Linked DNA regions of Homo sapiens: all the other regions are linked to region 3. The links are contacts of gene promoters, found by promoter capture Hi-C in blood cells and fetal thymus (Javierre and others, 2016). All regions are on one chromosome and are shown on one strand. The core of a region is centred on a gene start or on the middle of the fragment in contact, and the rest is flanking DNA. Distances in the headings are between cores, read along the strand shown. Region 1 has its middle 310 kb from the start of LINC00693. Region 2 has its middle 300 kb from the start of RBMS3-AS3. Region 3 holds the start of RBMS3 (RNA binding motif single stranded interacting protein 3). Region 4 has its middle 270 kb from the start of RBMS3-AS3. Region 5 overlaps RBMS3 (RNA binding motif single stranded interacting protein 3). Region 6 overlaps RBMS3 (RNA binding motif single stranded interacting protein 3). Region 7 has its middle 340 kb from the start of LINC00693.

Evidence for each region. The method cuts DNA at HindIII sites, captures the fragments that hold promoters and counts their contacts. A CHiCAGO score of 5 or more calls a contact.
Region 1: a contact is called between a fragment that was not itself captured here and the fragment with the promoter of RBMS3 in region 3, in 1 of 17 cell types (neutrophils). The highest score is 6.2, in neutrophils.
Region 2: a contact is called between a fragment that was not itself captured here and the fragment with the promoter of RBMS3 in region 3, in 1 of 17 cell types (neutrophils). The highest score is 5.1, in neutrophils.
Region 4: a fragment that was not itself captured here is called in contact with the fragment with the promoter of RBMS3 in region 3 in 1 of 17 cell types (neutrophils); the score reaches 6.2 in neutrophils.
Region 5: a contact is called between a fragment that was not itself captured here and the fragment with the promoter of RBMS3 in region 3, in 1 of 17 cell types (endothelial precursors). The highest score is 7.9, in endothelial precursors.
Region 6: a contact is called between a fragment that was not itself captured here and the fragment with the promoter of RBMS3 in region 3, in 1 of 17 cell types (endothelial precursors). The highest score is 5.1, in endothelial precursors.
Region 7: a fragment that was not itself captured here is called in contact with the fragment with the promoter of RBMS3 in region 3 in 1 of 17 cell types (endothelial precursors); the score reaches 7.0 in endothelial precursors.

Annotation. Positions count from the first base shown.
Region 1 is chr3:28,888,161-28,891,628 of GRCh38, forward strand. No RefSeq gene overlaps it. Among named protein-coding and RNA genes, the nearest start is that of LINC00693, 310 kb to the left of the region's middle. The HindIII fragment of the contact is 2,970 bases long and covers 86-3,055 here.
Region 2 is chr3:28,979,614-28,983,297 of GRCh38, forward strand. No RefSeq gene overlaps it. Among named protein-coding and RNA genes, the nearest start is that of RBMS3-AS3, 300 kb to the right of the region's middle. The HindIII fragment of the contact is 3,099 bases long and covers 630-3,684 here.
Region 3 is chr3:29,279,270-29,282,932 of GRCh38, forward strand. RBMS3 (RNA binding motif single stranded interacting protein 3) reads left to right here and starts at 1,802. Exons shown (of 15, transcript NM_001003793.3): 1 at 1,802-2,487. The coding sequence starts at 2,413. It overlaps RBMS3-AS3 (RBMS3 antisense RNA 3), which reads right to left and starts at 1,670. Exons shown (of 3, transcript NR_109804.1): 1 at 1,462-1,670. RefSeq lists an enhancer at 657-706. The HindIII fragment of the contact is 8,241 bases long and covers 1-3,663 here.
Region 4 is chr3:29,011,673-29,015,357 of GRCh38, forward strand. No RefSeq gene overlaps it. Among named protein-coding and RNA genes, the nearest start is that of RBMS3-AS3, 270 kb to the right of the region's middle. The HindIII fragment of the contact is 1,665 bases long and covers 580-2,244 here.
Region 5 is chr3:29,773,141-29,776,832 of GRCh38, forward strand. The region is part of intron 6 of RBMS3 (RNA binding motif single stranded interacting protein 3); the gene reads left to right. Among named protein-coding and RNA genes, the nearest start is that of RBMS3-AS2, 130 kb to the left of the region's middle. The HindIII fragment of the contact is 2,637 bases long and covers 124-2,760 here.
Region 6 is chr3:29,535,618-29,539,193 of GRCh38, forward strand. The region is part of intron 3 of RBMS3 (RNA binding motif single stranded interacting protein 3); the gene reads left to right. Among named protein-coding and RNA genes, the nearest start is that of RBMS3-AS2, 110 kb to the right of the region's middle. The HindIII fragment of the contact is 2,379 bases long and covers 646-3,024 here.
Region 7 is chr3:28,911,485-28,914,850 of GRCh38, forward strand. No RefSeq gene overlaps it. Among named protein-coding and RNA genes, the nearest start is that of LINC00693, 340 kb to the left of the region's middle. The HindIII fragment of the contact is 1,519 bases long and covers 596-2,114 here.

The sequences.
Region 1 (3,468 bases), core at 321-2,820, 390 kb before region 3:
AAATGATGTCAGAATAATAGGAAGCTGTGTTGATTCATATGTGAGTTTGCCCATCATGCTAATGTTTCGAAATTACCAGTATGTAAGCTTTCTTAAAATTAAAGAGGAAAATTTAGCAGTATATAACAATCTTAAGAAAGTGAAAAATCTTGCTGACATGCCTTCCTTTAGTGAAAGAAATGGTGGTTGATTTAGTGTCGTTAAGAACTGCACATTTTTCACTATGCCACATTTTTAGAAGAGACTGCAAATGCCAATGCAGATGTTGCAAAAGCATTTTCTCCTGTGATTTTTAAGAAATGATGAATGTAAAAGCATACCATTGTATTGTAGTTTTAATTTTGATGAAACTGGCCTCTATTAGAAGCAAACATCTTTAAGGACCTACATCTGAGAAAAAGCACTACCTCCAATATATAGAGCTTGCAAAAGATAATAGGTTCCAATCATGGTAGAGATTTAATATTCCCGGTGTTTTTTTTTTAAGTTCTGGGATGCACATGCAGAATGTGCAGGTTTGTTACATAGGTATACATGTGCCACGGTGGTTTGCTGCACCCATGAACCAATCAACTACATTAGGTATTTCTTGTAATGCTATCCCTCCCCTAGCCCCCAACCCACTGACAGGCCCTGGTGTGTGATGTTCCCCTCCCTGTGCCCATATGTTCTAATTGTTCAACTCCCACTTATGAATGAGAACATGTGGTATTTGGTTTTCTGTTCCTGTGTTAGTTTGCTGAGAATGATGGTTTCCAGCTTAATCCATGCCCTTGCAAAGAACCTGAACTCATTCTTTTTTTGTGGCTGCATAGTATCCCGTGGTGTATATGTGCCACATTTTCTTTATCCAGTCTATCATTGATGGGCATTTGAGTTGGTTCCAAGTCTTTGCAATTGTGAATAGTGCTGCAGTAAACATACATGTGCATGTGTCTTTATAGTAGAATGATTTATAACCTTTTTGGGTATATGCCCAGTAATGGGATTGCTGGGTCAAATGGTATTTCTGGTTCTAGATCCTTGAGGAATTGCCATACTGTCTTCCACAATGGTTGAACCACAATGGTCCACCAACAGTGTAAATGCATTCCTATTTCTCCACATCCCCTCCAGCATCTGTTGTTTCCTGACTTTTTAATGATCTCCATTCTAACTGGTGTGAGATGATATCTCATTGTGGTTTTGATTTGCATTTCTCTAATCAGTGATGATGAGCTTTTTTTCATATGTTTGTTGGCCACATAAATGTCATCTTTTGAGAAGTGTCTGTTCATATCCTTTGCCCACTTTTTGATGGGGTTGTTTTTTTCTTGCAAATTTGTTTAAGTTCCTTGTAGATTATGGATATTAGCCCTTTGTCAGATGGATAGATTGCAAAAATTTTCTTTCATTCTACAGGTTGCCCGTTCACTCTGATGATAGTTTCTGTTGCTGTGCAGAAGCTCTTTAACTAGATCCCGTTTGTCAATTTTGGCTTTTGTTGCCATTGCTTTTGGTGTTTTAGTCATGAAATCTTTGCCCGTGCCTATGTTATAAATGATGTTGCCTAGGTTTCTTCTAGGGTTTTTATGGTTTTAGGTCTTAACGTTTAAGTCTTTAATCCATCTTGAGTTAATTTTTGTATAAGGTGTAAGGAAGGGATCCAGTTTCAGTTTTCTGTATGTGGCTAGCCAGTTTTCCCAACACCAATTATTAAATAGGGAATCTTTTCCCCATTGCTTTTTTTGTCAGGTTTGTCAAAGATCAGATGGTTGTAGATGTGTGGTGTTATTTCTGAGGCCTCTGTTCTGTTCCACTGGTCTATATATCTGTTTTGGTACCAGTACCATGCTGTGTTGGTTAATTTAGCCTTGTGGTGTGGTTTGAAGTCAGGTAGCGTGATGCCTCCAGCTTTGTTCTTTTTGCTTAGGATTGCCTTGGCTATGCGGGCTCTGTTTTGGTTCCATTTGAAATTTAAAGTAGTTTTTTCTAATTCTGTGAAGAAAGTCAGTGGTAGCTTGATGGGGATAGCATTGAATCTATAAATTACATTGGACAGTATGGCCATTTTCATGATATTGATTCTTCCTATCCAGGAGCATGGAATGTTTTTCCATTTGTTTTTGTCCTCTCTTATTTCCTTGAGCAGTGGTTTGTAGTTCTCCTTGAAGAGGTCCTTCCCATCCCTTGTAAGTTGTATTCCTAGGTGTTTTATTCTCTTCGTAGCAATTGTTAATGGGAGTTCACTCATGATTTGGCTGTTTGTCTATTATTGGTATATAAGAATGCTTGTGATTTTTGCACACTGATTTTGTATCCTGAGACTTTGCTGGAGTAGCTTACCAGCTTAAGGAGATTTTTGGCTGAGACGATGGGGTTTTCCAAATATACAATCAGGTCATCTGCAAACAGAGATAATTTCACTTCCTCTCTTCCTATTTGAGTACCCTTTATTTCTTTCTCTTGACTGATTGCCCTTACTGCCAGTGTTTTTTAAATTAAAATTGTTATTTGTGTATTAAAGTTTTAGTTCAAAGTTTCATAGGTTTTGATTGGCTTATTCCAAAGCAGGTTTTCCCCAAAAAACCTGTTATTTTTCCCATGTAGGTTACAACATTTTTCAAAGTATATTTGATATAATAGCAGAAATGCATGTATCTGCAATTTCTGGCAAGATTAAAGTTCTCAAAAATATTTACTAAATGGGAACAAATTATAACTATTATTATTGTATTCCTTGAACATTTTTGTCTGAGCATCTCTTAGTCATAGCTGAACTCAACTTTTCACTGGTTTCTGAAATATTATCCACCTTGACGGTCCCAATTTCCTTTTGAAATAAACCATTTCTGTTTCTTATTATGTTTTATTCTCTTCCCAGTCAAAACTCTTAATTCCCTGTGAGTCTGTGTTTCCCATTAGACTGAGTCATGTACCTGGTAAGCACTCCACAAATGCAAGTGGTTGAATGAAGGATTCAATGTTGAATGAATGTATCACTTTCCAACCTAGAAATAGAGATAGAAAAATGGCAAGATTTATCCATCAACAACCTTCTATGGTCCTGCAGTGAAGCTTCTTCTAATAATGTCTAGAATTTATTTAGCAATAAATATGGGCTAATGTCTTATTATAATCCTTGGATTCACTGTATCAAGGAAATCCTTTTTTTTTTTTTTTTCCTTGAGACAGAGTCTCGCTCTGTTGCCAGGCAGGAGTGCCATGGCACGATCTCAGCTCACTGCAACCTCCACCTCCCGGGTTCAAGTGATTCTCCTGCCTCAGACTCCTGAGTAGCTGGGAATACAGGTGCACACCACCATGCCCAGCTAATTTTTGTATTTTTAGTAGAGACGGGGTTTCATCATGTTGACCAAGACGGTCTCGATCTCTTGACCTCATGATCCACCTGCCTTGGCCTTCCAAAGTGCTGGGATTACAGGCATGAGCCATTGTGCCCAGCCAATGTACTTTTATTATCCCCAT
Region 2 (3,684 bases), core at 929-3,428, 300 kb before region 3:
ATTTTAACCTGTGTATGGCACGAATATTATTAATTGGCAGGATGACCATGAAAGTTCACAGTGGTCTGTAAGTCTGAGTTATATTAATGTTATAATGGTAAAGAAGAAAATGCGTTTATAGATTTATAAAAGATTTTCATCCACAAGAGTTGAAATACATTCTTTCATTACAAAATGAATGTTCTTAAATAATAAGTTTTAAACCCTAATCCTTGAACATTCTGGTAATTGAAGCCTTTTACAGAACTTTCTTTTTGTTACACCAGAAACAGCAGCAGTAGCACTCTCTTGTACTGGTAGAGTTCGGCTGAAGTATCATGGAAAATTTCAATTCCAAACAGACATAGAGGCTGGCATTTTTATTCTTTTTCCAAAGGAGATTTTGTTAACTGAGAGGAAAGGAAACAAAGTGGGAGAAAATCTTCTTTGTTTAAATTGTTTTTAATTATGAGAAGTTTGGAGAAAATATAACCTGTTTATTTCACATATCACTTTGATACCTACTTTTCTTTTGAACTGAAACTATACTTTAGTAGGTTTCATGAAGTGTAGTGCATGTGTAGCAACAATAATGCACAGTCTGAAACAAATAAGATTTGAAAGTAACCTGGTTAAAAAGCAAGTAGCAAAGCTTGTCATTTTTAATCACTGATTTAGATAAACAGTTTTTAAAATCCAGGACTAAAACTCAAGTATGACTCAGATTTAATCTGTAAAATATGAAGTAAATTAGAGACTTACTGACCATTAAATTTATTTTAAGAGAAAAGATATATACACGCAATGCTTTCAGATCTGAAATAAGTGGTTTAATCAAATCTGTAGTATCACTAAAGATTACTGGGTTGGTTCTGAGTTTTGACTATCCTACTCACTTTTCTATACATGGAATAGCTGAATCTCCCATCTCTATTTCTTTCTCAAACTCTCTGCTGTTCCTATTGCCAATTAGGAATGATTTCAGTTGCAAGTAACAGAACAGGGACTTAAACAAAAGGATATTTAATTATCTCACAAAACATGAGTCCAAAAGTGGGCATTTGGTTGTAAAGTCTCAGTGATGTCACCAAGGACCCAGGCTCTTTCTAACTCTTCATTTAGCTATTCTTAGGGTGTTGGTGTCTTCTTTTCTCAGCTGTAAAATGGCTGTCCCATTTCTGAGCATCATATCTTCACAATAAGACTCCTAGGAGAAAAGATGTGAGTAAGTGGCAGGGATGACTCACTTCACTACCTCTACCTTTATCAGGGAGGTAAGTCTTTTTCAGAAACCACCCTATAGAATTTCATTATATCTCCCTGTCCCCTGACTGGTCATTGCTACTTTTAGCTGCAAGAGAGAAAGAGAAAGCAAGTATTTGGCTTTTTTAAATCCTCATTTATTGGGGACAGGCAAGAAAAAAACAGTTTGGGAATCGTTTATGGGTGCATCACTGAAAATATCTGACACTCTCCTAGGGGGCAATTTAATTGGCCTAATTCAGAGGTTTTCTAGATATCATCTACTTTTGAGTATGTGCTGTATCATTACATCAAACTCTAAAGTGCATATGAATTACTTGGAGATCTTGCTGAAAGATTATATGATACAGTAGAACTAAGGTGGGGCCTGAGAAATTGCATTTATAACAAGCTCTCAGGTGATGCCAATGCCGCTCAACCATATAACCATAGTTTGAGTAGTAAAGTTATATATTCTGTCTGTTCTATCATATTTTAAAAATTTTGGTCTCAGTATAATTATGCCTACCCACATTCTCATCCCTTAATTCCTTCTGTCATTTTCTGTATACAGTTATGTTTTTTTTTATCATTTTTATTTTTTCACTTGTCCTCAGTCACTTTTAATGAGATAATGCATGTGAAGGTGCTTAGCACACATAAATATTAGCTACAAATTCCTTCCATGTTTTCTGTTTTTCTACTCTTTCTTAATTTATGAAAGATTGTTTACTTTCTCCCTTTATATTCCTCTTTTAAAATTCCATTTATGGCTGGATGTGGTGGCTCATGCCTGTAATCCTAGAATTTTGGGAGGCTGAGGCAGGCAAATCACTTGAGGCCAGGAGTTTGAGACCAGCCTGGCCAACATGGCGAAACCCCATCTCTACTAAAAATACAAAACTTAGCCAGATGTGGTGGTGTTCCTCTAGTTCCAGCTACCAGAGAGGCTAAGGCACAAGAATTACCTGAGCTGTGGGAACCAGAGGTTGCAGCGAGCCAAGATCATGCCACTGCGCTCTGCCCTGGGCAACAGAGTGAGACTCCATCTCAAAATAAATAAAATAAAATTCCATTTGTGAGGGAAAACTTAACTATCTAAATTAACGAATGTAAATTTAGTTGCAGTGATAGTCTCGTGTCAAAGAAAAGACAAATCTCATGTAAAAACAAATAGTAAGAGAGAATAATTTCTTGGCCATCTCTAACACTGATGGAAAGGCTGAGCATATGTTTAATGAATTGTCACAGAATTCCCTGTTCAGATGGACACTGCTTTCTCAAATTAAACTTGTTATTCCTTAATTACAGCAGTCACAGGAAATAAAGCACTATCTCTCAGGCAATATTATTGTTTTCCTGTTTTGTTTAATTATAAGCGTAGAATAGAATTACTTACAACTATGCCTCTTTGCAAGATTTCAGTTACATTGAAGGTTAAACAGACTTTTATGAATCAACGAGGCATCATTTATACTCATGATTTCATTGGAAAATACATTGTGACTCTAGTCAGCCAGCTTACATGTATACATTTAAGTGTGTTACCTTATTCCTCGAAGACAGCTTCTAGCCTGCAAGCAGTGATGTCCAATAGAGCTTCCTGCAATTATGGCAATATGCTATCCGCACTGTCCCATAGGGCAGCCACTGGCCACATGTGACACATAGCTAGTCCAAATAAAAAAATGGATTTTTAGATTTTTTCTTAGTTACTGCACATTTAAATTTAGATGTTTGTGACTGGTGACTGTCATATCAGACAGACAGCTCTAGCAGCACTGAAAGGTTGTGGGTTTTGTTTGTTTTGACCATTGTTACTGATTGGTTCTGAAGGTTAACACCTCCTTCTTGTATACCACTTATTATCTGAGAGTCCACTTAGCTTTATAGAAACAAAGTTGTGAAATATAAATGGGGCTAACCTCACTAATTTTAAATTTATATATAGTAAAAAATGCATATAAATATTTTGGCTACTGGAGGATACAGCTTTGATAGAAATTCTTGTGACAGGATAAAGCAAAGAAATCGGAGCTAGTAATAATATTTGAACAATAATTCTCTTTTCTGGGCTGAAGAATTCATTGAACTTTATAGTTTTATGTCCATCTGAGTGTAAATTATTCCATTTCCATTAACATGTCATCATCTAATTAGTGTCCATAACATAAATTATCAACATGACTTTTTATTACCATCATTAATTCATTCATTTATTATGCATACTACACCAACTTTCAAAAGGAACAGGAGCTGATTCATTCATGTCATCACTTGGCTTTGCTGGAGTCAGTTTCAGTTCCTTTTGAAAGTTGGTATAGTATTTGTCAGGATGTTTGTAACACACCTTGAATATGACTTCTTACAGAGTAAAAAATGCTAAGCTGTAAACCTCGTCGTATTCATATTTTAATATTATACCTGTCCTCATCTTATTTCTCTTAGTCTTAGTTTCCATTT
Region 3 (3,663 bases), core at 552-3,051:
AAGGGTAAAAGAGGTGGAGATGGACTTGGGAGAGCACTCCAGGAAGAGGGAATGACAGAAGCCTCTGAGAGCATGTTCCTGTCCTGAAAGTAGCTCAGAGTGACTCCGGTATAGGATGTGAGGGGCAGAGTTGAAAGTCCGAGACTAGAGTAGAAAGCCAGGGCCAGACAGCTCGTCAAGTGTCCTGAAACCTATTCCAAAGAGTCAGGACTTTATTGTTTGAGAAACGTGACACCACTGGAGGATTTTTAAATCAGTGTCATTTTTAGTGTCTGATTCAGTGTACTGCCTTCAGCCAGGAGAGTTGGCAGTATTTCTATTTTATAGATGGGACAACTGAGGCCCCAAATAATACATTTAAGAGATAGGTGGGGTTGATTTAATATTCTCAATCACCATGTTGTCAGGGCCTCCTAACTCTTACCCTCTCACCCTCCATCCTTCCTTCCTTCTGATTGTTATTCTTGTCAAAAGTAAAACATAAAACTATTTACCTGCCATCCTTATTTTTATCCAAGGAACACGTATGCACTCACACAGCTTCCAGAAACCAGTTCCCCTCGGTGGAAGCCAGTTGCTTTAGGGGTGGTGCGGCTTGTATGTGGATGGACACCATGTGTGCACTGAGCCCAAATTCTCTGTTCTTCTTGACTAGGAAGCTGGATTTGTACCAGGGACCTTTTATCTAAATAGGAGACTCTGGGCTCAGGAGAACAGAGCCGACTTGACAAAGTAGAAAAGAGCTCAGTATTGGTCTGCCCACGCTTTGGGCATGCGTGAGCACTCGCAGCAAAACACAGCTGGCACATCTAATTTTAGCCTCGCCCGCCTTGAAAAGGGACCCTTTAAGGAAATATATTTTATCTGAAACAATTTGTATTATAATGTAGCAGCTGATAGACATGACAGAATATTATCATTGGTGGGAAAAAACTCTGCCAAGCAATTATGATTTTTGTTCTTTTTTTTTTAGATGATATCAGTAAAGTGATTAAAGCATCAATGCAACAAAATAATCATAAAGAGAGAGACAATGGGAGAAACAGATTTTATCTGTAAAATATCTGACGAACCTAAGGGGTCACTTCCTTTGATTTTTTTTTTTTTTTTTTTTACAAAATGGATGTATTTTAAAAAAGTTATTATTTTTGATATGTTCAGTTGATCAGTCCAATCTGATGACATGTGGCATTAATAGTAGTCCTGGAGTAGACCCTAAAATTTCTTCAATACTTAACATCCACCAAGTTTTCCAGGTAGTAAAAGGTTAGTTTCTCAATCAGCTCTTGGATGCGTCTGGCTCTAGCGTGTTAACAGATTTTGAAAGCATCCGGGACTTACTTTTTTCCCCTTTAACCAGCAAGGTTAGTTCCCCTGCCTTTATTTCTTTTCCTTTCTCCTCCTTCCTTCTTTCGTCCTCTCTTCCCTCTCTTCTGTGTTTTGTTTAGCAGTGTGGCTTACCTTGGAACTTGGCAAAAAGAGGAACAAAAAGCAGCTCTTGTGTGGGGTAGATGGAGGAGGGATAAGAAATAATCCACCGCCCGCATTTGAGTTCTTCAGGTTCAGTTCCAGCGGCAGCAGCGTTGCTGCAAAAATCGCTTGCTATTCGAGATAGCCAGCAGAGGGAATCGGAACTTTGCTTGCAGCAGGGGTTGAAGCAGCCTTTTTTTTTTTTTTTCTTGGAGGAAATACTGCAGCCTTCTGGACTGCGTACGCTGCTCCCTGGAGAGGCTCTCTCGGTTCCACCCACCGGCTGGAAGGAGGGGAAGTGAATGAAAGGACAGGACAAGCCCCGAACACCATGTCACTCTGGGAGGGAGACAGCAGCAACTAAGCTGTACAAGGTTTTTTTTTTTTTTTTTTCTTCCTTTTTTTCTTTTTTTTTTTCTTTTTCCCCTTTCTTTTTCTTTCTTTCTTTCTTTTTCTTTCTTTCTTTCTCTTTCTCTCTCTCTTTTTTCTTTTTCTTTAAGGTGGGGAAAGAGACAACCAAGAGACAGGAAGCTGATCTGCAAGGATTCGGAGTTGTGCTAAAAGGACTTTGATTTTTTTCCCCCTTTACGAACGCTGGCAATTGACATCACTACAGACAGCCTGGTTAGAGAACAAACTGCCTCATCCCAAGTGGACCCCGGCAGCTGGGGGAAGCCAGGCAAGATCTGGGAAGGCTGTGTGTGGGTGTTTTTTCTACAGATCTCACTCCTCGCCCTTTTTTTTTTTCCTTTGGTGTGTGTTTTTTGTTTTGTTTTGTTTTTTAAAAAAATTCTTGCTGTGTTGGAACTAGCGAGTGGTGGAGTCTCTGAAGCCTCATCAGTCACCGGGACTGTCAGGAATAGTGGTTTAAGAGGAAGCTCGGCCTGGGGCACTATACCCTGTCATCCAGTTCCCTGCCTCGGAGATAAAGATTCCAGCTACATGGGCAAACGCCTGGATCAGCCACAAATGTACCCCCAGTACACTTACTACTATCCTCATTATCTCCAAACCAAGGTATGGCTTGACCCACGGTCTGGCGATCAGCGTGGTATCGTTCTGCACTTGGGATGGGAAACAGACAGGCGTGTGAATTATTAGTTAACCCCCACCCCCATCACTTCTTCCTGCTTCTTTGAAATTAGTGACATACCAATGGAGTTAATGAGGCAGAGGAAGACATAAGAAGAAAGCAGCAAACCCGGAATTGTAGCTTTCTCTTTAAGGAGAGATAATAGTTTCACTTGAGTTCAGTTTCTTTGTTGTTATTTGGCAGCATAAATGGTCCTGATATCAGGAACGTCTTTTGCAGATGGGCACGGTTTTTAGAAAGCAGATCACAACAGTGATTACCAGGCACAAGAATATAATTTCAGGGGCTTTTCTGGTGAGCTGTTCTTTGATTGTGGCTCTAAAAGGGTTTTTCCCACTGGATAGGACGTGCAACGGTGGGGGTAACTCAAACTTTTAATCGCAGGGTATAGAATGAAAGAAGGGTGTGAGAAGGTATAGGGCTCCTACCAGAGTCTCTGAGAGTTTATTTTTATTTTTAATTTGCCTTGCCTATTTTATTTTATGTTGAGGATGATCAGCATGCTACAGACTGCTTTACAATAGATGTTCTTTACTTTTAGAAGATCTATTTTTCTGTGTAGCTGCCATGAGGAGGCCTGAGTCTTGAAAAGGAATGAAATGTAACTGATCATAATTGGACTTGAATTGGTTAAATACTTTAGGCTTTATGTGTGTGTGTCAAATGACCATTAGGGGCCCAGAGGCAAGCCCACGTAAGTAAGCAGTGGGCAGTACCTACCCTGAACTTTATCCTGCAGTTAAGACATGAAAGACTCTCAGGTGTGAAATCACTGCTCCGATTTGTCAATTAAATTGGACTTGATTAGGGGGAAAACATGTTAGCGGAGTGACCACCTCGAGTGTACGGGTGATATTATTTTGTATTGCATTAGCATTAGCCAGACTCCACCGTCTCCTTAATAAATAAATATGCCGAGAGTGAACAAGGCGTGCCTGAATGATCTATGCTGTCACCAGGACTCGGTGATGTGATTAGGGTTAGGTAATTCATGCTGTAGTTATCTGTCATTTATTTTGTCTCGTCCAGCAACGCCTATTTGTAAACCAGACTGGGAAGCAGACTTTCAGTATTATACAAAAGATTATTGCTTTGTTTTT
Region 4 (3,685 bases), core at 162-2,661, 270 kb before region 3:
TTTACTCATTTAACTTCATTTAAACCCTCGTTGGCATCTGAGTTGCATTAATGTGATAACACTTGTGTAGCAATTAATAAACTGTGGCAATTGTGAACATTTCTGGAATTTGTCATATTGAATGAGAGCAGGCTCTGGGCATCTAATATTTTGCTCATTTTCTGAGGTTAATCTGGCGTTCTAGAAGATATATATACATTTTTTCCCATTTTCCTTTGTACAAATATTCAAAGTTATGGCTTCGTCGTTTCACCAGACCTTTAGTTTTGGAAGTCATTTGTAATAGATGACTTTCAAGCAGTTTCTTCTTTTTTGCTCTCTTTGTTAGGAAACTCATTGAATCTTCAAGAATGTAATCATATTGTACCCACACAAATGCACATCCAACACTTTCACAAAGGTTACAGAAGCTGTGTGTTCTCCATTGCCCTGAGCCTTGTAAACTCAAGCACATTAAAAGGAAATGGTGAGCGCGTTCTGCATAATACGGTATCCAGTGCTAACAATACTGGATATTGTATCAACTCCACTGCTTCAGAATTGACTGTGTGACTGATAGAAGGTTTGGGAAAGAGAAAAAGCTTCCTTTCCAAATTTGAGGATAGACAGTATATTACCCAGAGGAATAGCAGATGATTTTTCAGCACTGAAATGCAGCATTGTTCTCATAACAACCAAACTGGTGTTTGGAACTTCGATTTAAAATAGCTAACTTACCACCTTCAGGCATTGGAAAATGCTTATTGATTTATTATTTCCTATCCCTGGGATAATAGGAAATGGATTTCTTTGCTTTTACCCACATATATTGCAGTGTTCTGCACAGATTAAGGCTATCCTGTTACCCAGTATTAAGTATAAAAACATTTAACTTTCTGGCTGAGTGTGTGTATAGGTCTACATCATGAATGCAAGAATAATTTTCTTTTAAAGTAACTTGACCTCACAGTGCGCATAGGTTGGTTCTGGTAAGTTCTCAAATCAAGTATCCTTTTATTATAGGAAATAAGAACCTCTGTCCCAGCTCTGTGATCTGTTTAATTATTCATGGTTGCAAGATTCCTGCTTACCATCTTACCATTTCTCATCATAATGTGTTAAAATCACTTTACTGTGTTATTTTTTGAATACTACTCTTGTCAGGAGAAATTCTTGGCCTATTTGTATAATCAGAAAAATTCTGAGCAAGATACATTTTCTAAAGCAATATAAGGAACCCACAAAAAATATTTCTTAAGAAAACATGAGAAAAAAGAAGGTAGAAAGAGGGAAGAAGAAAGGGAGGAAGGAAAGAATGAAGAAAATAAAAATTTAAAAAGGAAAATATATTACATACAACATAAAATGAACCTTGAAAGCTATCAGGTGAAGTTTGTTTTCTCAGGATCTGTTGCTATATTAAACATTGTCACTTTATTGATACTTTCCTAAGAAGTTCAGCTTTATGATTTAGTGAGTAAGCAATTCCATATATCTGCCACCACTGCAAGGTGGATATTAAGTATGCCCAAGTATCAAATACTTCTACTTCAGGTTCAGATTGGTTATGAAAAAAAAAGAGAGGAAGATGGTGGTATAAAGTATGAAGAAAAACAGGAGAATCAATTGATTCTAAAGAAATCTCTAAGGATCATCCAGCTCTAAACCAGATTGCTGTTCATAGAGCTAGGGCATCATTATTCCATGAAATCACTCCAGTATTTCTTATGGTAAATTCCAGGTCAGCAGCTTCTTTTGTAATACCTTTAAGCACCAAGACTCAACATTTCTACATTAATGGAAAAAACAAAATCATTGCTATTAATATAAACATAGATGATAGTGAACGTATTTTGTGTTGGTGTTCAAGAATGTTCCAAAGGGAACTTAAAGTTTGCTAGACAAATCAGAACAATAGATAGGGATTGACTGTTAAGTACAGCTTGAATATTGACTCTTGGGAAGGTATCTAGGTTGACTTGTGTCTTACTTGCCAAGTGGTTCTTCCTGTATCCTGAGCTACAGAATGGCCTACCAAGAAGAATTTGTTGATCAATGTAGATGTGCCACTGGTTATGGCACAGTTTATGAACTCAACATGCAGAGGCCTGATTTTATACCTCAGATGAAAGCCAATACTGAGTCCTTATAGTACATTTTCAATGCTTGTCACTTGACTACCAAGAAAAGTATTTTTTTTAACCTTCTCTGTAATTTTTACTTTTTCATGACTGAGGAAGTGGTGATGGAATTACATTATCCTTAAGCTTAGCAAGAAGATAAGACTTTTCTTCTCAAACCTTTCCATTAAGGCAGATTTCTCTGTTTCCATTATTTTCTGGAGACATTTTTAGACTACATTCTGGTTTCATCTCTCTTACAAGAATGTATTCAAGTCACAATTAGCCCTTTAAAATTTAGAGTTTCTCTTATGATTTCTTTCTGCCTTAGTGGTTAAAAAAAAGTTGATTTTTTACCCCTCATTACCCACATCTTCAAAAGAATGCAAACTAGGGCAAATTCCCTTTGTTTCCTTAGTGAAAAAAAAGTATCAATCTTGAGTTCTCAGTTCTGATTCAGAAAGAATGTTATATTCACTTGAGTCCTTGGCTCTGACCAAAGGAACAGATCATTGCTAGTCCTCAAAACTATTCAGGCGGCCGGGCGCGGTGGCTCACGCCTGTAATCCCAGCACTTTGGGAGGCCGAGGCGGGTGGATCATGAGGTCAGGAGATCGAGACCATCCTGGCTAACAAGGTGAAACCCTGTCTCTACTAAAAATACAAAAAATTAGCCGGGCGCGGTGGCGGGCGCCTGTAGTCCCAGCTACTCGGGAGGCTGAGGCAGGAGAATGGCGTGAACCCGGGAAGCGGAGCTTGCAGTGAGCCGAGATTGCGCCACTGCAGTCCGCAGTCCGGCCTGGGCGACAGAGCGAGACTCCGTCTCAAAAAAAAAAAAAAAAAAAAAAAAAAAAACTATTCAGGCTCCTTACGATAGCCAAAGGCACATATTTTGGAAATGTTTTAGATTTATAGAAACACTGTAAAAATAGTACAGAGTTCCCATATGCCCCACAAGTAAAGTTCATCCACCTTAAACTCATCTTGTCTATGACAATTTCTCAGACTTTCCTTGGTTTTGATCTCCTTGACAGCTTTGAGGAGAATGGGCCAGATATTTCCAGGTATTTTGTAGAATCTCCATTAACTGGGTTTTTACTATTTTTCTCATGGTTAGATGGAGATTATGGCTTTTATCAACGTCGATATTCTGATTATTATATTGTACTATAGTTTTGCAAGACGTTATAATTGGAGAAGACTGTAAAGAACACAGAGTTTTCTCTGTATTATTTGTTACTATTATTAAGTGAATTCAAACTTACCTCAAAATTAAAAGTTAAGTTTTAAATATAAAAAAGTGGCCCTAAGTATTGAGGAGACTTTATGCAGAATCAAATTCTTAAAATAATGTTATTATAATAATGCTATAAGTTGACAGTTTTCTAGTTTCTTATTTAGAAAAAGTAAGTTGTGATGCACTATACACATTAAAGATGCCATTTATTATGTCTAGATTAAACAATTTCATGCAATGTTGTAGATAAAGATGTAAGTAGTGAAAGAATAGGAATATGTATGAGAATAATACACACCAGCTTTGGGATAAAGCCTAGGTTTAAGGAAAGAGGGAGAAAATAGAAATA
Region 5 (3,692 bases), core at 192-2,691, 490 kb after region 3:
ATAATCAACTTTAAGTTTTAGATGATTATATCTCAAGCATAGACCATGCTCACACCCCTACTCATTGTCCCATGAAACGGGGATTGTCCTAAAGCTCTAAATGCCCTAAATCTTTCATCTGAAAGCTTAGTTTTGAGACACACATTAAAAATTTAGAGGTGGTGAATATGCATACTTATTATATATTTAGAAAGATAGATAATGCTTATGATAAAATAATTTTAAAAATTAAGTGCATTTTCAAAAATGTGTTTCTTAGCCAAAGTTATTACACATTCCATATTATTCCTATAGCAAGATTGGGAGGCTGTACATATGAAAACATAACCATTTTCTATTGAACTGAGTGTGAGACACATTTTGGACCAGAGGTTTATATCAAACAGTTGCACTAGTTGACCCGCTGAGATGCCCTAAAGAAAAAGAACTCAAGAATTTAAGTTGATTTCCAGCTGTTTGTTATTAGAGCAAATGTTAGTGCTCCCGGAGTGTTTGCCCGTGGCCATCAACCAGCACCTGCATCTCTTTCATTAGGTAGACTGCCCTTAGGCTGCAGCAGCCTGTTTTGCCTGTGAGCAGTGAGAGTCAGAAGTACTTGGGAATTTACATCCCCATTCGGGGCCATCCATAAACAGTGATTGACAGCTGTTGGAGTATCAATATCCCAGTTCTTCTGCTTCTGATGAGAATACCCTGTGTATGATGTATACTATCTCTATAGCTTTCCTGAAGGATTCAAACAGTTACAGTTTGTGGGGCTGTCTAACACCACATCCTTGCTTGACTCCTTCACTTCCTGGTCCCAATTCCCAAGTCCCTTACTGGCTTTCCCTGAAAATACTTCCTAAGAATTCATGTTCACAAGCAACCTTGTTTCAAAGTCTGTTTCTGGTGAACCCAAACTAAGGTATTATATTCATACAGACACTAAATTTGTTATTCTATGATCTATTATTTTCATTAATGTTTTGAGTTTTACAGTCTCATCTGTAAAATGTACTCAAGTTAACTGAATCCCTCAGGATAGATTGAGGGAGGTTTCAAAAGTGAATATAAAATTCCTCAAATTCCCTCACTTCACTGGAAATAGACATACTAGACACTCTAAGTAAGGCAGCACTTGTTTATAGGTAGCTGGCTTCTTTATAAAAGGGATACACCATTTAAATGTTGATAAAGTGTGTGTAACAGCAGATAAAACCGTGATCAGGTCTCCTGTGAGTGAGCAATCACCGGCCGATTATCACTGAGCTAATCACAATATGTCTTAATAAAGGTCCATTCAAAAGAATGAAAATTGTATCCATATATAAGACAAAGGGGTTTTAAAATAAAAAAATCTTAGCAAAGTGTACAAAAGCACTGAAGAAAAATATTGAAACTAATATGTTTTTACACATAATCATTTTAAGATGGTATAGTGAGCTTGATACAAAGGGTGTTACAGAGACCGCTGGAGGTTCCTAAGATCCTTTCTGGTGGTCTACAAGGTCAAAAATATTTTTATCATAATACGAATTCATTATTTGCCTTTTTCACTCTGATTCTCTCATGAATGTAAAGTGGAGTTTTCCAGGGGCTACATGATTTGAGATGTGGCAAAAGCTGGAATATGGAAGCAAATGTTAGAATCCAGCTGTCTTTTATTAAGCCAGAAATTACAAAGCCACTCTTCTCTTTTTTATTCTGTTTTTGAAAATAGTGTTTTTAAATAAAAGTGTATGATTTATGTCAATATGTAACAGGACTATTATTATTTTAAAATAAATAAACATCTAAATTTTTTTATTTTATGTTTTAATGGTGTCAATAAATATAACGTGTCTAAACAAGTTTTGGGGGATCTTCAATAATTTTTCAGAGTGTAAAGAGGCCCTGAGACAAAAACAAAAAACAAACATAGAAAACAGCCGATATAGAGTCAAATTCAAGCCCTTCATCTTAGAAAAGATGAAGAAAGATAACCAAGATAAAGGCGAAGTTTAAAATACGCTCTCACTTTTTTTGGTCTTATTTTGAGAACCTACGTATGTTCTAGGAAGCTAGTTTTAATGGAGCAATTAAAAAATAAATTTCAATTAAATGAGTTCTACCAGTTTTTTTTTATTTTTTTATTTTTTATTTATTTTTTTTTTTTGGTAAACAAGCATTCAGGCGCCTAATCTATAGTGAGTGTTTTGTTTTATTTTTTTAAATGCAGAGGCAATGGTTAGTCTTCTGAACATTTGCATTCTCATTTTCATTAGCAAATAGCATATTGTTTGACAGAATATGTGAATGTTGTATTAAGACAATGTATTTAAGCAGCGTGTGTGGCATGCTGCAATTGTGGGAATGGAATTATGTGAATTTGTGAGTAGCATGCGAATGAGTCTGCCCACAATTTAGGGAGAGTTTAAGACTAATATCTAAGAGCCAGAAAGCTAACCACAGATGCCACATGGGAGCTGTGTTATCATCATAAGAACTATTCTGTGTTGCTTCTTTTAGTCGCTGCTAATTTCAGATAATGTTCATCTTACATCTGGACTTCACCAGTGTGAGTGCTATTCACCATGTGGGACATATCTTAAGTACGTACGACCTTCCAGGTTTGCTAGTTGTAGTACATGATAATAATAAAAATGATAATAATATATTTAAACACTAGCATGCAACTAATTGAACACTGTATATTATTAGTGTTCACATAAAATCTTAAAAAAATTTCAGAAATAGTAAAGTCTCCTATTGTAGAGTCACATAATCATGATTTCATTAAGCTTATTGCATCTTTACCTAATTTGAATGATCTCTAAGGAAAGTAATTCTCTAGTCATCTTTTGTAACTAGTTGTAATTTTATCTGAATGAATCCATGTAATAGATAAAATAATTTAAGATAAAATTCTCATATAATTTATTTTTAAAGGACGCAACTCAATATTTGCTTACATCATTTAACAGCCCCTTCATTTCTTGCATCCCAAAGACAAGCATTTTACATCTTTGCTACACCTATATGATGTTAAAGAAAAGAGCGCCATTCGTCCAGCTTATGATATGCTTTCTATGAGATCCTCACGGCCAGGATCCCCTTTGCCCTTTATGAATTTAATTTCTGGAAGAACATATGCTACAGAGAATACCACCTTTGCCTTTGGAATCAGATGGACTTTGGTTTGACTTATGCTGCTGTCTCTTTTTTACGTTTTAACTTGAACAAGTTATTTAGCGTCTTGCCAGGTTCCTCATAGAACCTAATTGTTCCGCACCCATTAACTCGTCATTTAACATTAGGTATATCTCCTAATGCTATCCCTCCAACATGGTACATGTATACATATGTAACAAGCCTGCATGTTGTGTACATGTACCCTAAAACTTAAAGTATAGTAAAAAAAACCTAATTGTCCCATTTGATGTTAACAATATCTCCTTTACAAGTGTTTCTAGAATTAACTGAGAGATTTTCTATAGCCCCACAAAGAATTCTGGCAAGAAATGGTAGATAGTATTAGTAGCATTATTAGTGGCATCTGTTAGCCTCATGAGAATTATTTCATCAACATCCACCTTCTAGGCTAGAAGTATAATTTAATAGTTGACGTCTCTGAATGACATCATTGATGAGCATTATCTGGTACATGGGGTATATAAGGTACACATCCTTTGCAACTAGGTAAGGACTACCCTTCCATTTTGAGCCTTATG
Region 6 (3,576 bases), core at 585-3,084, 260 kb after region 3:
AGCACTAGTTGTAAAGAATTTGTAAGACCTATAAAACAGATGTCTATCAAATCAGGCATTTAAGTATGAGTTCAATGATTGAGATCATTGCTCTTTTTTTTTTTTTTTTTTTTTTTTTTTTTTTGCTGGTAAATAGCAGTTAAATTGCAACTGATCAAGAGGTATTCAGGATGGTGAGTTTGGACTGCATGGCTCCCTTCATGGACTCATTTATAATTTAAACAAGTGTTTTATTAGAGTTATTTCCCATTTACTAGTTAAGTGATTTATTTATGGTCTATTCAGAGTCTATTAATTACATACATTTCAGAATAAGTAGCAAATAGTCATTGTAATAGTTTCCATAGTGTACTAATCTTACTCCTCTTTAAATTTCGTCTGAAGTTTTGAATCTTCACAGAATTAGCTAGACATATATGTTACCCACTACAAATGACGTCTGAATCTCTTAACAAGGATGAATAAAAAGACCTGAAAAGTTAGCATGGTGGGTACTCTCAAACTATTTTGTTTTTTATTTGCATAGCTTTCCTAAGTAAAAAATGTCTGGGAAAGGCAATGCCAAGAATCTCTTGGTAGACAGGCATGCTCCACACATATACAGTAGGAGCCAAACAGTCATTTATGGTAATTTCATTAAATGGAAGCTTGATATGCAAGGGAAAAATTTTTGTATGTGCATGTGACTATTTTTCAATAACCAAGTAACACTAGTATTAATAACATGCTAAATCAGCATGTATTAATTTTTTTTCAGACTGGCCAAAAAAAATTTACTTCCAAGATTACTGAATGAATATTAAGATTGCTTATCTTGACCTTCCTTATCACTGCGTCATGTGCTGCATCAGTTTTGTTATTGTTCTTTGTTCTGTTCTGATGTTTACTGACTTGGAACATATGCTATTATAACTACACCACAATCTCTCTTCTATTTCTCTACCATAACCTTGCAAGGGGTTAGGCAAACTTGGAGACGTGTCAGAAGAAGAGCTTACCAACCTCATATGTTAGCCGTATTGCACAGCAGTACTGCAGAAATGAGCTGCAAATTCCAAGCAACATATTGAGTTTGTGATTTATTTGTTTTCCAGGCAGGCCAATTAATTGTTTTGCTGTGATGCTGCCCTAAATTGTAAATAGAAAGAGCAAGAAAATGAATTGTCACATTCTGTGCCTGTGTCTCTTGCTACTTAGGATGACAAAAGCAGTTTCTGCTCCGACTGCAAGTGATATTGTAAAATATGAGAATTAGGCTGGACCTAAATGTGTTGGTCAGTGTGTTTCAGAGGTGCGTTTTAGAATGGCTTTAAAGACATTGTACTAAGACTTTACTACCAGTAGGTTCTGGAGAGAATGTTATAAGACAGGAAAAAGGAAAATAATTCTTATTTCATGCCTATCATGTGTGCTTTCTTTCTTGAAATGATGGAAAATGATGGCTTCCCCATATTTCCAAACTGATTTTTTCAAATAGATTTGGAATGTTTATTATATTAATAAAAATAAGTGTTTTTAGATTTTTACTAAAGGGGAATGAAAGAGAAGGTAAAAAAGGTAAAACTGACACATGAGGGAAAGTAGTTTGTCAGCTGAATGGACTATTGGCACATTTTCATTAGTTCCAGTGGAATTTGAAATGGTTTGTCAGGACTCTAACTTTGGCCCTAAAGGCACTTGGTGAAATACTGTTTTATTTTACTTGGTAAATAATAAGTATTTTAATGGAAGAACATTTTGGCTTTCACATCTGCTCCCTCGTGGCAACAGCAATTTGAAGTCAGTACATGCTACTGAATGCCATGAACTCTTAAGAAATTACCAAAATACCTTAAACTAAATTTCTTAGGTGAAAGTTGTTTCAAAGAACGATTGAGCCATTGTCACAGGAACCAATGCAGGAGGCTTTATAAAAACACATTTTTGGTCGGGCGCGGTGGCTCACGCCTGTAATCCCAGCACTTTGGCAGGCCGAGGGGGGTGGATCACAAGGTCAGGAGACCGAGACCATCCTGGCTAACATGGTGAAACCCCGTCTCTACTAAAAATACAAAAATTAGCCGGGCGTGGCGGCCTGAGCCTTTAGTCCCAGCTGCTGGGGAGGTTGAGGCAGGAGAATGGCGTGAACCCGGGAGGCGGAGCTTGCAGTGAGCTGTGACCGCGCTACTGCACTCCAGCCTGTGGGAAAGAGCGAGACTCCACCTCAAAAAAAAAAAAAAAAAGAAAGAAAGAAAAAAAATTTGCCCCGATACCATGACTTTGAATCTTTTCCATTTCATCTTCACATTGTGAGTCATGATGAACTACTAATACAATATACTGGCAATATTTAAAGCCTTGTATTTGCTTTTTGCATATATATTTAAGTTTTGCAAAATTTTGGAAACAGGGAGCAAATAATTTTATATCTTGGAAAGTAACCTGGGCCTGTCATATTAACCCACTGCTTATGAATGGCCCTAGGGTAACATGTCATTCACATTCTTGGGCAGCTTGTCACATGTCACAGAAAGCACTATAGACTTACATTGGATTTGACTCAAGAAACATGAATAAAGATAAATGTGGATAGGTAGAAGATAATCAAATACTGGAACATTTATGGTGCTATCAAGCACATAAACACATTTATAAACTGTTTTGGCCTCTGTACAATTTATGCGCCCTGGATTTTCCCACAGAAGTTCTGAAGTAACTTACAAAAAATATACTTTACAATGAATATGAAAAACTCGAACTAGAAATAGTAAACCAAGAGCACTAACAGGAAGAGGAAAGAGATATATACGATTATTGAGTGCGAAGTTTCCTGGCAACCCAAACAAAAAGGATACAAATAAGGAACATCGTTATCCTTATTATAACTGAGGAAGTCCCTTAGCAGATGCCAAAGTTTTTCCTGGCAGAAATGTCTAAAAGATGTTCTTAATTTGTTTAAGCAAGAGTTGCTTAGAAGCAAGTGAGTTTGAATTTGTCTGGTGCTTAAAAACAGTGTTATGGGTAGATTTATGTTTCCAAATTATAAGCTTTGGATTTTCTCAGTATTACTTTTATAAATGCCATCATATTACAAAGAGAGGATAATAAGCATCCAGTGGGTCACTTTGGTAGACTTAGTCCTTGTGGTTAATGAAGGCACATGTTGTCCTGCAGGCAGTATCGTGTCAAGCCAACCTGGATTCATACTGAGCTGTGTGTCCTTTGTCAAGTTCTATGACTTCTGTGACATTCCGTGATTTTTTTATTTCTGTAAAATAAGAATGCTCAATTACATAGTTATTAAGATTACATGATAAAATATATGTAAAAGAGCTAAGGTTATCACAGTACTGTCTTAACCATTAACAGCTAAAGATGAAATAACCCCATTTTTTTGCTTATTTTCCCTTCTTGTCACTAATTTCAACTTATATAATGGAGGAATAACATATACAAAGAATGAATATAATCACAGAAATTATAACTGAAGTCTGGGCTTCTGACTCAGTTCCATTCTGCATACACTATTACAGCTGTTTGGGTCTTACAGGAAATGAGTTATTATGGAGATATAGGCTTCCAAAGCTAAGCATCTAC
Region 7 (3,366 bases), core at 105-2,604, 370 kb before region 3:
TGTAAAGCTGCCATTACATTCTATACTAATTGATCAAAAGGAAATCCTCTGTGTTTGTGCTTCCATAGATGTGCATTTGTTCCCTATTTCTTCCTAAGCCAAGGATAAGACACTCACACAAGCTCCTGACTCAAAACATGGCTCTGTACCAAAGAACTAATAAGCACAGGCAGGGTCCTTTTGTTTGTTTTCTTTTTTTCTTCTTCTTCATTTTTTTTTTTGAATAATTGCTTTCCCTATTTCTTTCTTACCAATTCAGCCAACACACTTTATCTCAAGGAAATTACATTTGCTCACATAGGTGTGTGAATAAGCAGAATGACAGGAGTTTGTTTCAGCCGGAATTAGATGGATATTGCAATTACTTGGGGAGAGAACGTTTCCCTAAATTCAGCGACGAATCCTTCTCAGATCAAAACAAGGATTACTTGAAAGATGGCTTTTGTGCCTTAATACATATTGTGTTTTGGGAGCATATAACTACTTCTTACTCTGTGGTAAAATATTTTTTTGGTTTTGGGAAAAACAAATACATCTTCACAATGATAGTGAGAACAGAAAGGCTGAGTTTTCTGGTCAAAGAAAGGGGATTAGAAGCTTTTCTAGTGATGTGATCCAGACTGAAAAGGGAATGTTGTGGATGTTTTTGTGGCTTGAAAGAATATTCAACCAAGAGCCTTCATTTAGGATTATAACTAGAGCCTCCTTTCCTGACCATGTTCTGCCAGGCTCTCAGGTACTGTTTCTTTGGACTTCTCTTGACATCCCATACTTCACTTTGCTCTACAAGCTATCTCAGTTTTTAGTTTGCTTATCTAATGGTTAATAAACTTCTTGAGGCCAAAGAATGTGTACTTTCTGTCTAGAACTCTTAGTTCTTATTGTAGCTCTAGCATCTAGTTAAGTCAGAAGCCAGAACATTGAAGGGATGAATGACTTGAACACCGAGAGCTCAATGATATCATGGAATTAAAGTCAATATTTCTTTTTTATTTATATTTTAGAATCTATACAGCAGTCCTCCCTTATCTGTGGTTTCGCTTTCTGAAGTTTCAGTTTCCCGTAGTCAATCGAAGTCCAAAAAATGTTAAATGGGAAATTCCAGAAATAAACAATTCATAAGTTTTAAATGGCTCACTATTCTGAATAATGCATTGAAATCTTGTGCTGTCACACTCCATCCTGCCTGGGCGTAACTCATCCCTTTGGCCAACATATCTATGCTCTTGTATATGTTACCTCCCTGCTAGTCACTCAGTAACCATCTCTTATCTGATCGACTGTCTCAGTATTGTAGTGCTTGTGGTCAAGTAATTCTTATTTTACTTAATAATGGTCCCAAAGTTCAAGAGTAGAAATTCTGGCATATTGTTATAAAGTACTATTTTATTATTATTGTTAATCTCTTACTGTGGCTAATTTATAAATTATACCTTATCATAGGTTACATATAGGACAAAACATAGTATATACAGGGTTCAATAGCATCTGAGGTTTCAAGAATCCACTGGAAGTCTTGGAAGGTATCTTCCTCAGATAAGTGGGGACTATGGGATGGATGTTGAAAAATGGATTTTGAGGTTTTTTTTCATTACTTGCTTGCTTATATAATTTTTTTCAAGAATTTCTACAGAGTGTATATATATATAATTTTAATAATTAGAAATAAATGCAAAAATAAAAAATGTACTTTTTAAAAATGTAAACAATACCTTTTAAAAAAGAAACATTGAGATTTTTAAAAGCAAAAATTTAAAATTCCTTAAGGATTTCAGTTTTGGAATAAGATTCTCCCCCAACCTCCTCCACCGTCAAATCGTAACATAGTTGTATTCACATGAAAGGAAGGCAGAATGAGCATGCTGGAAATATGGTGTAATACTAACAAACGACATGAGAAAGAGAGAAATCTTTATTTTTATTTTTTGTTTGACATTTTTTTCCCAACTGGAAAGTAGAATAAAGGTTAATAAGAATATATGGAAGGCCAGGAAAGGAAAGGCCACGTTAAGAAGATACCTACGTATGTCAAATGATTTCTAATATCAAGCCCAGATAAATTGCACTCTGGAGAGGAGACAAACTTCAAGAGCAGAGATGACAAAGTAAGCATAAGCTTCTAGAAAAGCTTATACTAGGCCATTTACAAAAAGAGAGGGAGAGAGAAATGGATTACGAATGTGACAGATTTGTAAATTTGACAACAATTTCTGGGCAAAATAAGTCAGGAAACACATGGTTTTGAGTTCACAGAAAAAGGGCAACCACTAAATTTCAGAATGTATTTTAAAAGGATGGGAATGAAAGTTACTCTTGATTCCTTTTTTGGGGTAGGATTCTAGACTTCTGGATTAGGTGATTTAAAAAGCAAAAGCAAAGTCTTTTCAAATTTGAGCAAGTCATGGAACAGTTTTTACTGATTTGTTGCTGACAAATTGGAGAGCTGTGAATAAAGAATGTAGGTCATGAGATTTTACCCAGAAAGTGGCATATGAATGCCCAGCCTCACAGTCCTGTATTTGTCCCTGTCCCTTTTAAAATGCTGCACAACAACTTGGATGTGGGCTGAAAAGTTACACAAATGCTTTGAAATGGAGGATCACATAATAAATATGGAATTCAAGACAAATTTAAACTGGTTGGAACAAACAGCTAAAACCAAGACGACTTTAACATAGACAAATTCAAATTCAATTGTTTAGGTTAAAAAAAACAACAGAAATAGGAAGACTACTCTGAACCCATCTTAATATAAATATGAGCAAATTTTTATACAAAGCAAATCTCTTTACAAGCCAACAGAGTGATGTAGCGATTAAAACATTCTGATATCCTTTTGGATTGCATTAATAGTGTGTTAATGTCAGGTCCACAGGAGCCGATGTTCCTACCCTATATTGTTTTTCTCAGTTCACACCAGAGTGTGGTATTGAGCAGATGTTCACTGATTCAAGAAAAGGGTGACTGGAGAATTTACATACAACTAACAGAAATCTCTGATGGTACTGGGCATATTTGTCTTAAGGGAGAAAGATTTTAGGGACACCCTGATAATAATCTTTCTATATTTAAAAGGCTTTTATGTAGAAAAGAGAATAATTTTGTATTGTTCCAACAGGTAATAGAAATTGTTACAAGAATGGGGAATTCAATTCAGCATGAAGAACTTTTTAACTATTAGAACTGTGTGAAATTAGAGTAGAAAGCCTTAGGAGGCAATGAACACCTGTGATTTTGAATATTCAGGTGTGTAACTGACAATGCTCTAGGTAGGTATTTTTACATGGTGGTAATATTGAGTTGAATTAGGCAATCTAATGACTTCTAAGCCTAAGGTGTTATGAGCTTATAGGTTCTGTTTGTCTT